Regions from separate parts of the Homo sapiens genome. Here region 1 is linked to region 2. Evidence: promoter capture Hi-C in 16 types of primary human blood cells and fetal thymus (Javierre and others, 2016). All regions are on one chromosome and are shown on one strand. The core of a region is centred on a gene start or on the middle of the fragment in contact, and the rest is flanking DNA. Distances in the headings are between cores, read along the strand shown.

What was found. The method cuts DNA at HindIII sites, captures the fragments that hold promoters and counts their contacts. A CHiCAGO score of 5 or more calls a contact.
Region 1: a fragment that was not itself captured here is called in contact with the fragment with the promoter of GIGYF2 in region 2 in 1 of 17 cell types (neutrophils); the score reaches 5.4 in neutrophils.

Annotation. Positions count from the first base shown.
Region 1 is chr2:233,341,452-233,348,952 of GRCh38, reverse strand. It overlaps SAG (S-antigen visual arrestin), which reads right to left. Exons shown (of 16, transcript NM_000541.5): 14 at 6,627-6,682; 15 at 2,541-2,550; 16 at 1,898-2,146. The coding sequence ends at 2,041. Among named protein-coding and RNA genes, the nearest start is that of DGKD, 9.3 kb to the left of the region's middle. The HindIII fragment of the contact is 910 bases long and covers 1,009-1,918 here.
Region 2 is chr2:232,695,162-232,701,956 of GRCh38, reverse strand. It overlaps GIGYF2 (GRB10 interacting GYF protein 2), which reads right to left and starts at 4,626. Exons shown (of 29, transcript NM_001103146.3): 1 at 4,565-4,626. RefSeq lists enhancers at 3,428-4,122, 4,123-4,819 and silencers at 4,324-4,653, 4,684-4,773. The HindIII fragment of the contact is 8,556 bases long and covers 2,694-6,795 here.

The sequences.
Region 1 (7,501 bases), core at 214-2,713, 650 kb before region 2:
AGCTTTGGGAATCCTCAGAGGAGTGTGCCACCCTGGCCATCCCTTGTCTGCGTGCCCTGAGGGGAGCATGGGTTGAAATGGTCGTGCACCATTACCTTAGCATAGAGAGAAAAAGAACGAGGGACTGTGTCTGATCCTGCTAACTCGCAGCCTGAAGGACCAATCTTCCACCTGTAGTCTAGTGTATTATAAATCCTCCTCCCAATGCCAGGATGCGTGAGCCAGCACACGGGTCCACACCTCGCTTTGTCTGGGATCCCATCCAAGCTTCCCAAGTGGAGCCTCCTCATCTAAATCCCAATCTCCAGGACCCGAACAGCTGGAATCCTTCTGAACAACCCCAGATGCTGGGAACCTTCATGTGTATGGAACCCATACCCTGGCCAGCCCTCTGTCGCCATGTTCCATCCCAGAAGCCTGATCCACGTGTACTCCCCATCTAGAACCCCTCCCACTCACCCTCTGCCTTCTGTGAGTGGGTTGAACTGTGGAGGAATCTCCAACCCCCCTTTACCCTGCTCCCTTAAAGCATGGACCAGAGATGGACCAGAGCCTATGCATCTCCATCCTCTCCTTGGCCGCCATGAGCCTGTTCAGTATCTGTGCCATCAGCAGCAGGCCCGGTGGGTACCTCAGGGCAGGAAGGGACCCCACAAAGGAAAGGCCCTGGTATCACCTCTATTATCCCTCCTCCACCTGCAGTTCACCTTCCTCCCTGACACTCAGAGTGCTCTCCCCTATGCCTCTCACGCCCAGTCTCAGTGAAGCACGCTCTAAGTAAGCCCATGTGACTCACAATCAACCCCCTTTTCTGGGACTCTCCATCTCCAGGGCTGGGCTCTGCCATCGCTGACCACGGGGTGTTGATCCTCCCAGCCAAAGCTGAGCCAGTTGGATTCTCCTTCCCAATAACTGCCCACTGGGACCAAGAGACGCAGAGCTGGGAACGTATGGTGCTGAGCTGCATGAAGAGCCGCCCTGGAGAGTGGGTCCCTGACCCCTGAAGCTTCTCTGATTCCTGCTTACCCCAGGTGTGGCAGCTCAGGTTTGTCCTTCAGTTCTCTGATCACACCGGGGTCCTCCCACTACATTCCTTCTCCCCACCTTAATTTAACCAAATCTGATTTTGCTTCTTGCATTGAATAGAACTTTACCAACAACCCAAAGCTCAAACAGACACCTGGACCCAAAAGTTGAATCATTAACCAAGAGTATTTTTGTCCACAGATGTTCTCTGCCCTATTTAACTTAGGAGGCTCTTTAGGGGCCTGGAAGTTGGGACTGGTCAGGTAATTAGAAACATACACTGGTGGCCAGGCGCAGTGGCTCACGCCTGTAATCCCAGCACTTTGGGAGGCTAAGGTGGGTGGATCACCTGAGGTCAGCAGTTTGAGACCAGCCTGGCTAACATGGTGAAACCCTGTCTCTAATAAAAATACAAAAAATTAGGCGGGCATGGTGGCACACGCCTGTAATCCCAGCTACTCAGGAGGCCGAGGCAGGAGAATGGCGTGAACCCGGGAGGCGGAGCTTGCAGTGAGCTGAGATCACGCCACAGCACTCCAGCCTGGGCAACAAGAGCGAAACGAAGGAAGGAAGGGAGGGAGGGAGGAATAAAGGAAGGAAGGAAGGAAGGACAGACGGACAGACGGGAAGGCACTGTTTCCAGAGAAACAGCTCAGACTGGGACTCCTAGGAAAGCCCCTGGACACACCGAGGGCCCCACCTGGTGAGCACATTGATTTCCAGACGCCTTCTCTCCCTCATGGGAGTGGTGAGCCCTTCCGTGGGAGGCTGGCCTCCCTCTCCCCAACCCTCCCACTCCAGGGACCCTAATGGTGGCAGCTTGTGTCATGTCATCAACTCAGCCTCCCCAACAAATCAACCAACTCATGACCCAGGGGAGAACAAACAAGCTTTATTTCTCGGAAGAAGACTCATCCTTTCATACGCAGCATAACTCCAAAGGACTAAACTGTGGGGCTTTGCTCGTTGCACTGGTAACTACAGGTCATTTTCCGGCATCCTGAGCCGACATCTTCACTCATCAACGTCATTCTTGTCTCTCTTCCCCTCCTCAGCTTCTCCTGCATCTTTCAGATTATGGCGAGCAAACTCCTCAAAAACTAAATTTGCATCCTGATAACTAAAATAAAACAAACAACATTTTGATCATTGCACGCCCTTTGAAGCTGAAACTGAAACAAGATCCTTGATCTTTTTGCAACGAAGGAACTGATCAAGGTTTTCCCCATGATAGAACATGGGGGCACGCCATTTTCCTCAAGGCTTCGTTTAAAATTCCTTTAACTAGCACCAATGGGAGAAAACAAAGGCACGCGCAGAGTGAGCAAGCACACCCAGTGTAATGGTGCGTGCGTGCCGTAAGCACTAGGGAGCAGACGGGAAGTAGCGGATGTGCCTCCTGAGCCGGCAGGAGAGCTTGGGATATGTGCAAAGACTCAAAGAGGGTTTTGTGCTGGAGGAGAAGGTCCCAGAGCATAGGACAAATCAGGGCCACATTCAAGAGGCTCACTCACCTTTCCTTAGCTGTAAGCATGGAATAAAAGGGAGGCAGGGAAGAGGGAGAGAGAGACATTTGTTAGTCTAAATTCTATATCATAGCTGTACCTAGAAAATGTCTACCTTTTAGGTGACTTTACAATTTGAGAGATAAGGCCTAGATACATGCAGTTCATGATCACTGCGTGTAATTCCTGCCTCCCTGCCTTTCCCACTGGAACAGCTTTTCTCCTTGCATTTTATTTATTTTATATTTTATTTTATTATTTTATTTTATTTGAGACTGTCTCTCTCTGTCACCCAGGCTGGAATGCAGTGCCACAATCTCTGCTCACTGCAACCTTTGCCTCCTGGTTTCAAGAGTTTCTCGTGTCTCAGGCTCCCAAGTAGCTGGGATTACAGGCATGCGCCATTATGCCTGGCTAATTTTTGTATCTGTAGTAGAGAAGGGGTTTCAACTATGTTGGCCAGGCTGGTCTCAAACTCCTGACCTCAAGTGATCTGCCAGCCTCAGCCTCCCAAGTGCTGGGATTACAGGCGTGAGCCACTGCGCCCGGCCTCTCCTTGCATTTTAAATCACTGCTTCCTTTACAATGTGCCACAGCCTTCACCTCCTCACATGAAACCCCCCCAGTCTCAACTCTAGGATGCTTTCCCTGATCAGCCTTGCCCCCTCTGATGTCGCTTCTCCTTTCTTATTTATTTATTTGAGATGGCATCTTGCTCTGTTGCCCAGGCTGGAGTGAAGTGGCACAATCTCGGCTCACTGCAACCTCCGTCTCCCAGGTTCAAGTGATTCTCCTGGCTTAACCTCCCAAGTAGCTGGGATTACAGGCACCCACCACCATGCCTGGCTAATTTTTGTATTTTTAGTAGAGACGGGGTGTCACCGTGTTGGCCAGGCTGGTCTCGAACTCCTGACCTCAAGTGTTCCGCCCGCCTTGGCCTCCCTGCCCAGCCAGTTGCTTCGCCTTTCAAAGTATTTCTCCTTCCATGTCCTCGGGACCCCATTGAGGTCAGGGTCGCCAGGGTGCCGTGAGCATGTGCACCCTGGCACCTCCATCTGTCAGGCTTCAGAGGCCTGAGACCTGGGACTTGACGTTCACCAGCACCCCAGGGTTAGAGTGTGCATTAAAGCTTGAGGACCAACCCCCAGCCGCAAAGTTTTCAATTTCTGTTAACATATTGATTTTGTTGTTGTTGAGTTATGTTTTCACATGTGTTGTATCCCCAGACTAACTGCTATTAATTTGAATGGTTTTTGTACTTTTTTAGCTTTCTGCCCACCTAGTTTTGGGGAGCACAGCGGCGATTTGATGGTGAGCCCCTACTCTCGCCTCTGGTGCCCACCTGGAAGCCAGCACTGGGAGGGAGTGTCTATGAGGGTCGCTACGTACAGGGGCCCTAGAGAGGCTAGCTTGTCAAAACATCCCCTGAGCAAGAAATACCCTGCGGCCCACAGTGCTCAGCGAAGAAATTACACTAAGCGGGACCATCAGCCTTGCAGAGGTAGACAACAAGGAAGAATCAAATCAGCATCTTCGGATTCAGTAAAGATGCCCTTGACAGGGGACAATAAAAACTTGGTAGCATGTCACAGCACTTATTACACACAAATTACTTGGTCCCCAGGCTCCAGCAGGGCTTAACTACATATAGCTTATGCTTTCTCTGCTTAGAATCCTACCAGCCTAGACTCAGGGAGCCGAGAACTAGGCAGAGAAGACAGGAGAGATGACATTTATCTCTAGAAATCTCATCTATCTCATATCTATCTCATATCTCTAGAAATCAGAATTTTGTAACCATGGGGTGATTTGTCTTAACCTTTGCTCCCAGAAATCTCACAGTACAAAAGATCATTGTTTCATCCTGACATTGTGATATGTTCACTGTTAAGGCCATAATGACTGGAACGTGAAAGTTGTATATGGAAAAGAATTTAAAAAAATTAAGTCAGGCCGGGCACGGTGGCTCACGCCTGTAATCCCAGCACTTTGGAGGGCTGAGGCGGGCAGATCACCTGAGGCCAGGAGTTTGAGACCAGCCTGGCCAACATGGTGAAAACCCATCTCTACTAAAAATACAAAAATTAGCCAGGCGTGCTGGCGCGTGCCAGTAATCCCAGCTACTTGGGAGGTTGAGACAGGAGAATCACTTGAACTCGGGAGGCGGAGGTTGCAGTGAACCGAGATCATGCCACTGCACTCCAGCCTGGGTGACAGAATAAGACTATGTCTCAAAAAAAAAAAATTAAGGCATAAAGTCTACTCAAAGTTCCAGAAAACAACCCAACATAAACTATGACATCTCCTCAAGTGACTATCTTTTTAATGTCCTTGAAAGGAACCAGAAAGCATCTTAATCCCACACCATGAAAAAGTAACATTTTAATGACACAAGCATAAATGAACTGAAAACATATAGCTGGACTACATTTTTCTCCAAGGGACAGTTTTGGAAAAGTTCATTGAGGATCTGAATCCAAAGTATTTGGAAGAGCTATTTTGAAACAAAGTACTGTTGAGACAAAACCTAAAATGAATAGTGGGGGCTCATTCTAATGTTTAAACGGCATTTCACTACCAATATAGAAAAGCTATTTGTAAAGTATGAGAAAAATAAACCCTGCTTGTTTATACCACTTTTACTTAAAATATCCCTTATTCCTATACCTACGGAGAGTTCTCATTTAGACAGATCTGTTTTTCTTTCCCGTCAACTAAGCTGCCTCGATGCAGAGAATGTTTCTTCAGAATTTCTGAGATTTCACCTATATTATTTTTGCTGCTTCATTTACCTTTTTAGAAAGAGAATGATTGAGATCAAATTCATATATCATACAATTTACCTTTTCACAGTCGACAGTCTAGTGGTTTTTATATGTTTTCAGAGTCATACAACTATTGCATCATTTCGCATCCATACAAGAGCCAGTAGATTTATAATTCAAATGAGCTGAGGTGTCAGGAACCCAGCCTGACCCTCTTTTCTAGTATTTTCTGTATTCTTACCATAACTGCCACTGTCAAAAATAGTTATCTTCAGGCCGGGCGCCGTGACTCACGCCTGTAATCCCAGCACTTTGGGACGCTGAGGCGGGTGGATCACCTGAGGTCAGGAGTTCAAAACTAGCCTGGCCGACATGGCGAAACCCCGTCTCTACTACAAATACAAAAATTAGCCAGGTGGGGTGGCAGGCGCCTGTAATCCCAGCTATTCAGGAGGCTGAGGCACGAGAATCACTTGAACCCGGGAGGCAGAGGTTGCAGTGAGCCGAGGTTGTGCCACTGCACTCCAGCTGGGTGACAGAGACTCCATCTCAGAAAAAAAAAAAAAAAAAAAAAACCCCAAAAAAAAACAGTTATCTTCAGCCAGGTGCAGTGGCTCATGCCTGTAACCCCAGCACTTTGGGAGGATGAGGCAGAAAGATCACTTGAGCTCAGGAGTTCAAGACTAGCCTGAGCAACATGGCAAGACCTCATCTCTACTAAAAATCAAAAACATTAGCTAAGGGTGGTGGTATGCCTGTAGTTCCAGCTACTTCAGAAGCTGAGGTAGGAGGGTGGGTTGAGCCCAGGAGGTTGAGGCTGTAGTAAGCTTGATCACACCACTGCACTCCAGACTGGGTGACAGAGTGAGACTCCGTCTCAAAAAAAAAAAAAAATTATCTTCTTTTAAATGTCTGTTAATGCTTTCAAATGAAACATGAGGCCTTTTGTTTCCAAATGAAATGCAAAATCCTCGTGCTCTAAAATTAAGTTTTTACCTAAATCATCTTTAATTCTAAATCCAGGTCTGTTGACAGCAGAGCTTCTGCTCTTAAATCATTCATGATAAAACCTCACGAGATTGTCCCTGTCCAAGAGCAAGGATGCTACATCTTGCAGACTCCAGCTGAAGGTGGATAATCTACCCGGCTCAGCGCTGAACAGATGGGCCCTCCCTTCCCCCCAGACTATTCACCTTGTAGATCACATGGAATCTCTTACACCTGGCCACTCCCATGCTCTGAGATGCGGTCAAGAAAGACTAGAAATACATCAACAATAAATCTGCAAGTAGCAAATAATTAAAGAAAGCTAAAAAAGGACATAACTGACCTGGGTCCTCAGGCTGAGGGTGCATGAGGCGGAATGGGACCTCAGTGGCGACTTCACTAGAAAAAAAGAATGAAGATTGGTGTGAACACCCATACACACAATTGTAAGTAACACAGCAAAGACCTATGGCTGCGGAGAGTCACAAAAGATCCCCAGGCCCAAGCTGAAAGACAATGCAGTGGGAACTTTTTTTTTTTTTTTTTGAGATGGAGTCTCGCTCTGTCGCCCAGGCTGGAGTGCAGTGGCGCAATCTCGGCTCACTGCAACCTCCACCTCCTGGGTTCATGCAATTCTCCTATCTCAGCCTCCCGAGTAGCTGGGACTACAAATGCATGCCACCATGGCCTGGCTAATTTTTGTATTTTTAAAAAGTAGAGATGGGGTTTCACCATGTTGCCCAGGCTGGTCTTGAACTCCTGATCTCAAGTGATCCACCTGCCTCAGCCTCTCAAAGTGCTAGGATTATAGGCATGAGCCACCCTGCCCAGCTTCATCATTTTAAAGTGCACAATTCGGTGGCATTAAATACATTTACGCTGTTATGCAACCATCACCACTATCTAGTTCTAGAACATCTTTATTACCCAAAAAGAAAATCTCATCCCCCTTAACCAGTCACTCTCATTTTCCCTCCCTATAGTCCCTGGCATAACCACTAATCTGTTCTCTATCTCTATAGATTTGCCTGTTCTGGATATTGTGTGTAAATGGATTCATACAATATGTGGCCTTTTGTTATTGGTTTCTTTCACTTAGCGTAGTGTTATTAGTATAAGGTTTATCCATGTTGTAGCATGTACTAGTACTCCATTCCTTTTTATGGCTCAGTAATATTCCATTGCATGGATATACCACATTTTGTTTATCCCATTCAT
Region 2 (6,795 bases), core at 3,377-5,876:
GGCTCAAGTGATCCTCCTACCTCAGCCTCCCAAAGTGCCGGGATTATAGGTGTAAACTACTGCACCCAGCCAAAGAAGAGTTTATTATCCATTTCTTCTTCCCTTTCCTCCTGCCCTTAAAAAATTACACAGTTCAGTGGGTAAAGTTGGATGACCTTTGGACATTATAACATGGCTACTTTTTTTGCAAAATTAAATCAGAAGTGGATGTGACTTTCTCAAATTGCATTCTTGGTGGGGCACAGTGGCTCATGCCTATAATCTCAACACTTTGGGAAGCTGAAGCGGGAGTATCACTTGAGACCAGAGGTTTAAGACCAGCCTAGGCAACATAGTGAGACCCCATCTCTACAAAAAATATTGGCCAGATGTGGTGGCATGGACCTATAATCCCAGTTACTTAGGAGGCTGAGGTGGGAGGATGGCTTGAGCCTGGGAGATTGAGGTTACAGTCAGTGGTGATTGCACCGCTGCCCTCCAGCCTAGGTGACAGAGCAAGACCCTGTCTTTTTTGGAGAAAGTCTTGCTCTATCACCTAGGCTGGAGCGCAGCGGTGCAATCACGGCTCACTGCAACCCCAAACCCCCAGGAGACAGGGTCTTGCTCTATCACAGGCTGTAGTGAGCCAAGATCAGGCCGCTGCACTGTAGCCTGAGCAACACAGTGAGATTCCATCTCAAATAATAATAATAATTAAGCTTAATGAAACCCCATAGTTAACAAGAAAATATAAAATTGTGTTCCTTATTTACTTAAAGTAGGGAAGTATGTAATACTTTGAAATACCTTTATAAAATGAAGTTTGGTCAATTAAGAGAACATTCTTTGTTTTTCAAACCTCTTTCTGCTTTCAACCTCACACAAAACTATAGGCAATTCAATAAAGGTATCACTTTACATTCCTACATAATTAATTTAGTATATTTCTCATTCATCTGAGAGCATGAATAAAATGTAAAAACAATATTTGGTCAAGAAACACTGCAATGCTAACTATAAGCAAGTTTATACATGAAATAAAAATCTCTAGTTTTAAAGAGATGTAATTTTTCAAAGTATTAAAAATGAATGGAAACTCTAGGACTTTTTTATCTTATTTTAAACTTCTATTTCTTTTTCATTTTATATATTTTTCCTTTTATTCTTAAATACTCTCCCATGCAAAAACCATAGGACTTTATCACCACAAAACCCTAGTGGGAATCAAGCAGTGAAAAAAAGCTTGAGTTCAGACTGTTACAACAATGACCAAACAATATGCCATGGTAATTTAAACTGAAGGAAAATGGACATTTAACTTGCCTCTAAGAGACCTGGGTTAACACCAACATAGGCTGTAGATTCAACCTAATGAGACTGGTCCCACTATAATCTATAAGAAATAGAATAAAACAGAAAGTATGGGAAATTTAATCAGCAGGAGCTAATGGAGAACTGCAAACAAAGTCAAAATTTGAAAATGGCACAAGTCAAAGATCCTACAGAAGGGCAATCATAAAAGCGACAGTAGTAATCTTTTTACCCAAAAAGGTTCTCCCAGATAGCAATCACTATCAACAGTGTCATCTTCCAATGTGAAGGTCAACAAAAAGAGAAGAGACAATATGGAGTATTAAAATGCAGAGTCATGAAAACAAATGAGCTGATATGACATCAAAGACATAATTTGGAAATGTCATTTCAAAAACACAATAGAAAAACAAGAGGAAGAAAGGCAATTAGTTAAAACACTACCTCATCACTACCATCACTATGCCTCCCTTTTAGCCAAGGAGTTGCATTCACACACTGACCTTGTAATTTCCATCTTCTCATGATTTTGAGGCAAACCTACTCCAAAGTGTTTTTCACATATGCATCTCACCAGCAAAAGCATTTCAAAACCAAAATATTAAAATTCCTCAGCTGAACTAAAATGAAAGAGGACATTTATGAAAGCTCAGTAAAAAGAATATGGAGATAAACTGGAAGGAAATCAGAAAATGTTTTTTGCAAAAAAATATGTCTATTAAGTATCAGACTAGACAACTAGTCTGAAAGGTAAAAGTGGAGGAATAAAAAACTCAGCACAAAAAGTTCTACACGTGTAAAATGTGAAGGATATACACATGAATTAGAGGAAGAGTCTCCGGGCTGGACAGCACAGTATTAAGAAAAATTCTTTACTAACCAGATTAAGGATAATTTGAGTTAATACATTGTTTCCACCTTTCTTCCTGGTATGTTCCTTAATCATGTGTCTAAATGTGAAAGGAAAATTTCTAATTTCCCTACATTTTCAAATATCCTGAAATCTCCAAAGAGCCTCCTTCTTGTAAAGCAATTGCTTTTGAAAAGTACTTTCAAGCAGTTTATCATCAATCTCATTTTAAAACGTTTACTTTTGAGAAAGATAATTCATTATAATTTCCTGAAATACTGAGCATCCTAAATTTTTCCAAATTAGCGGATGGGGATGGGAGTTAAGGGGGTTGGGGAGGCTGGCTGCTGGCCCAAATTTCCAGAATCTGATTTCCCTTTCCAAGAATCACAAGAGATAAGAAAAAAGAATTCAGGATAGCAAATAATCCATCTCATCTTAGTACCAAACAGTAAGTACACACATCTCCCACCAGTCTCCCACTCACCCTAGCCTCTCAGCCTAGGCTAGCCTCCATGCTTTTCCCAGTCTACTCCTGAATCGCTCCTAAGCTTTTGTCTCCGGGTCTTTGCTCTTGCTGCTCCCTAGCCTAGAGCACTTTTACCCCAGTATAGCTAAAGAAACAGCACCTTCACCTCTGTTGGGTTTTTCCTCCAGTGTTAGCTTCTCCATGAGGCCTTCTCAGGGCACTTAAAATTAACCCCTCCCCAAACCCCTATTATTCTATCTCCCTGACTCATTTTTTTCTTTCACATCGCTTACCACTACATCAAGTATTTTACCTATTTATCTGTCTAGAAATGAATTCCATACAGACAGGAATTGTTTGGTCTGTTTTGCTCCCAGTACTTAACAGTGTAGTAAGTGCTCAACAGGGTATCTGTCAAATAAATGAATGTATGAATGAATAAACAAATGAATGGAAGCACATGGTTCCTTCTCCCTCCCAAACCTCAAGAGTCTCAAATGCTGTCAGGTACCAAAAAGTCATGAAGCCCTCTCCTTTCTGGTGAAGCACTACCATCACCAGTGTATTCCTTGATGTTAAATTTCGAAAGAAACATCATGTGACATTTTTCCAGTTACGTGCCACTTTTAAATACTTTTCTAGTGTCCTCTTCTGTTGTCAACATCTGATGTAAAAGCCAAGTACATATTCCAGTTTGAGCACATCAGAAACTGCTACACCAACTAGTAAAACACGTAAAACCATCAATGAATAAGAGAAAGTATTTGTGTTCTAGGCAAAATGGACAAAATAAGGCCAAAGCTACAAATATTAGAAGGAGCAAAATTAATGTACAGAAAGAATGACAGAATTTTTTTTTCTAATCTAGGAAGTCATTTGATTCTAAAAAGGACATACTATATAAAGAAAGAATACCTTCCCCAGGCACAACATTGGGAATCAAAACTGCCTTAATTCAATGTATGTAGCTCTAGAAAGGAAGCTGTTCACAGCTTCTAGCCCCATACTCAATTTCTTGCAAGTTAAACTGGAATACTTACCTTTCTTACAGAGAGACTACGTGTGTTTAAGTGCTTTGACTTGCAGGAAAACGAAAACAACAAAATAAAAAACACAGTACTAAATAATTAACTGCAAAACAACGTTATTGCTTCCCAAACACGGTCATACGCTCCGCTTCTTTCATGCCCCCATTCCCTGTTCGCTTGATTTATGTTTCAGTCGCAAAACAAGTATTCAGAGTGCTTTTGGAAACTGACACTTAAGGATAATGCCCATTTCAACCTGATGTGAACATTTGGGTCCCCAAGGCTGCCATGGGCTCTAGTTTCCCAGCCTCGGTCCCAAGGTTCCGATCATGGTGGCTGCACCTCGCCTCAGGCCTGGTCCAGACCCAGTACTCTCGCCACGGAAGGAGTCTCCTCCGTCCAGATGCTCTGTGGGGAAGGCAGGAGCGCACCTCCCAGGGACCAGGTGTGGACAGGAGAGCCGGCAGGAGCAGCTGTCTGGCCGCAGCAGCTGTTACCGGGCCACCCCGAGACTGGGCGGGTGTCTGGCGCGGAGAAGCAAGCAGAGGAAGGCGAGCCCTCCAGCTCCGAGCAAGCCGGCCTGACACTGCCCACCCCACAACCCTCCTGCCTTGTTCGGCTCCCCTCGCAATGCCAAGAGGCCCTGGCCTAGGGGCTTCTCGGCTCCTCGCGGCCGTGACGCGCCAGGGCCCTCAGCGCCCCTCGCCCAGGAGGAGGCTCCCTCCGGCCCTGCACCTGACCTGTCCCGTCGCCTGACGGCCCAAGCCGGCCGGAGCGGCCTGTGGGTGTCCATGCGGCCGGGCCAGCTCGGGCAGGAGGAGCAGGGGCGCGAACGCGGACCGGAGACACAGGCGGCCCGGGACGCGGCGGCGGGGCCGGGGCGCGGAGCAGAGCCGGGCAGGGGAGCGACACGGAACGGCTGGTTACCTGCGGTCCGGGACAGGGAGTCTCAGAACCCCAGTCAGTCCTCAGCCTCAACAACACAAGATGGCCGACACGTCGCCACGCACGTCACGTGACCGCGCTCCCGCTCCGCCACGCCCCCTGCTCCGCCCCCGCCCCTTCCCGCTTCCCTCCCCACTCTCCAGTCTCCCACGACATCCTTCCTTTCCGCCACCACCCGCCCCTCTGCCCAGACACGCCCCTGCCCGAGACCCGGATGAAAGGTTGGAAGAGGGCGGGGCCGTGGCAGTGCGCAGGCTCCCGCTGACCCCTTGGCAGCAGCCGGGTACCTGCCCTTGAGTTGAGTGGTGTTGGTGTCCAGGGTTGGGCCCGGACCAGGCACCGTGTGACTCACTGTCCTGTACGCCCAGAGCTCTTTTGCAGTTCAAAAGCCTCTGCATCACTTGCGGGCTGGTTTTCCAAATTAGAACTTTTCCACAGCTTTTAGTCCGGCATTTTTCTTCGCAGTTGCCATCCTAGAGCGAATGGGAAAGCCGCAAAAGCTGAAATTCAAAGCAGTTTCTCTACTTGTTAACAGTTCTGGTAGAACTGGGAATTCATTTCAGAGTGTTGTACTGGGACAGCTGGAAAGGACTTGAGAGCTCTGATTCCTTCCTAGGACATCTGGGGCTATAACCCTTTTACCTAGAGATGAACTATTTTGGAATTGACAGATAAAATACAAGACACCCAGCAATATTTGGGGCACACACTGAAAAATTGTTCGTTGTTTTTCTGAAATTCAAATTTAATTGGGCGTCCTGTGTTTGCTAAATCTAGCAACTCTATCCTTAGGCATCCCATTCTTGCCTGTGTCTCCAACTTCTTCCTTCCTACAGGATCCTTCCTGTCAGCTTTAAAGATTACTTGTGTCTCCCATCTTAAAATGGAATGTTAAAAACTCCAATTCTCATGCCGGGCGCAGTGGCTCACACCTGTAATCTCAGCACTTTGGGAGGCGGAGGTGGGCGGATCACGAGGTCAGGAGATCGAGACCAGACCATCCTGGCTAACACGGTGAAATCCCGTCTCTACTAAAAATACAAAAAAAAATGTAGCCGGGCGTGGTGGCACGCACCTGCAGTCGCAGCTAGTCGGGAGGCTGAGGCAGGAGAATCGCTTGAACTGGGGAGGCAGACGTTGCAGTGAGCCGATATCGCGCCACTGCACTCCAGCCTGGCGACAGAGCAAGACTCCGTCTAAAACAAAAACAAAAACCTCCAATTCTCGGCCGGGCAGTGGCTCACGCCTGTAATCCCAGCACTTTGGGAGGCCGAGGCGGCGGATCACCTGAGGTTGGGAGTTTGAGACCAGCCTGACCAACATGGAGAAACCCCGTCTCTACTAAAAATACAAAATTAGCCGAGCGTGGTGGCGCATGCCTGTAATCCCAGCTACTTGGGTAGCTGAGGCAGGAGAATCGCTTGAACCCGGGATGCTGAGATTGCGGTGAGCCAAGATCGCGCCACTGCACGCCAGCCTGGGCAACAAGAGTGAAAATCCGTCTCGAAAAAAACAAATAAACAAACAAACAATCAAAAACACCAATTCTCCCTCCTGCGACCCTGTTCCCTTTCAAAGCCAAGCTGCACCAAAGAATTGTTTATATGCACTTTCTCCATTTCCACACCTGGCATGCAATCATCAACCACACCGATGTGGCTTCTGTCCTTTCCTATCTGCCTATTGCTTGCCCTAAGAACACCCCATCCTACAGGTTGATAACTGGAGTCTTTCAGTCCTCATCTTGACTTCGTGTTTCCCTGTCTTCAATATGATTGGCCTCTTCCTACTTTCTGAAACACTTTATTTATTTATTTATTTATTTTTGAGACAGTTTCGCTCTTGTTGCCCAGGCTGGAGTGCAATGGCGTGATCTCCGCTCACCGCAACCTCCGCCTCCCAGGTTCAAGCGATTCTCCTGCCTCACCCTCCCAAGTAACTGAGATTACAGGCATATGCCACCACGCCCGGCTAATTTTGTATTTTTAGTAGAGACGGGGTTTCTCCATATTGATCAGGCTGGTCTTGAACTCCCGACCTCAGGTGATCCGCCCACCTCGGCCTCCCAAAGTGCTGGGATTACAGACATGAGCCACCGCTCCCGGCCTTCTGAAACACTTTCTTCCCTTGACTTTTATACCCTTACCGCTCAAAGTGGTACAGTAGCATCAACATCACGTGGAGACTTGTTAGAAATACAGAAACTCAAAGGA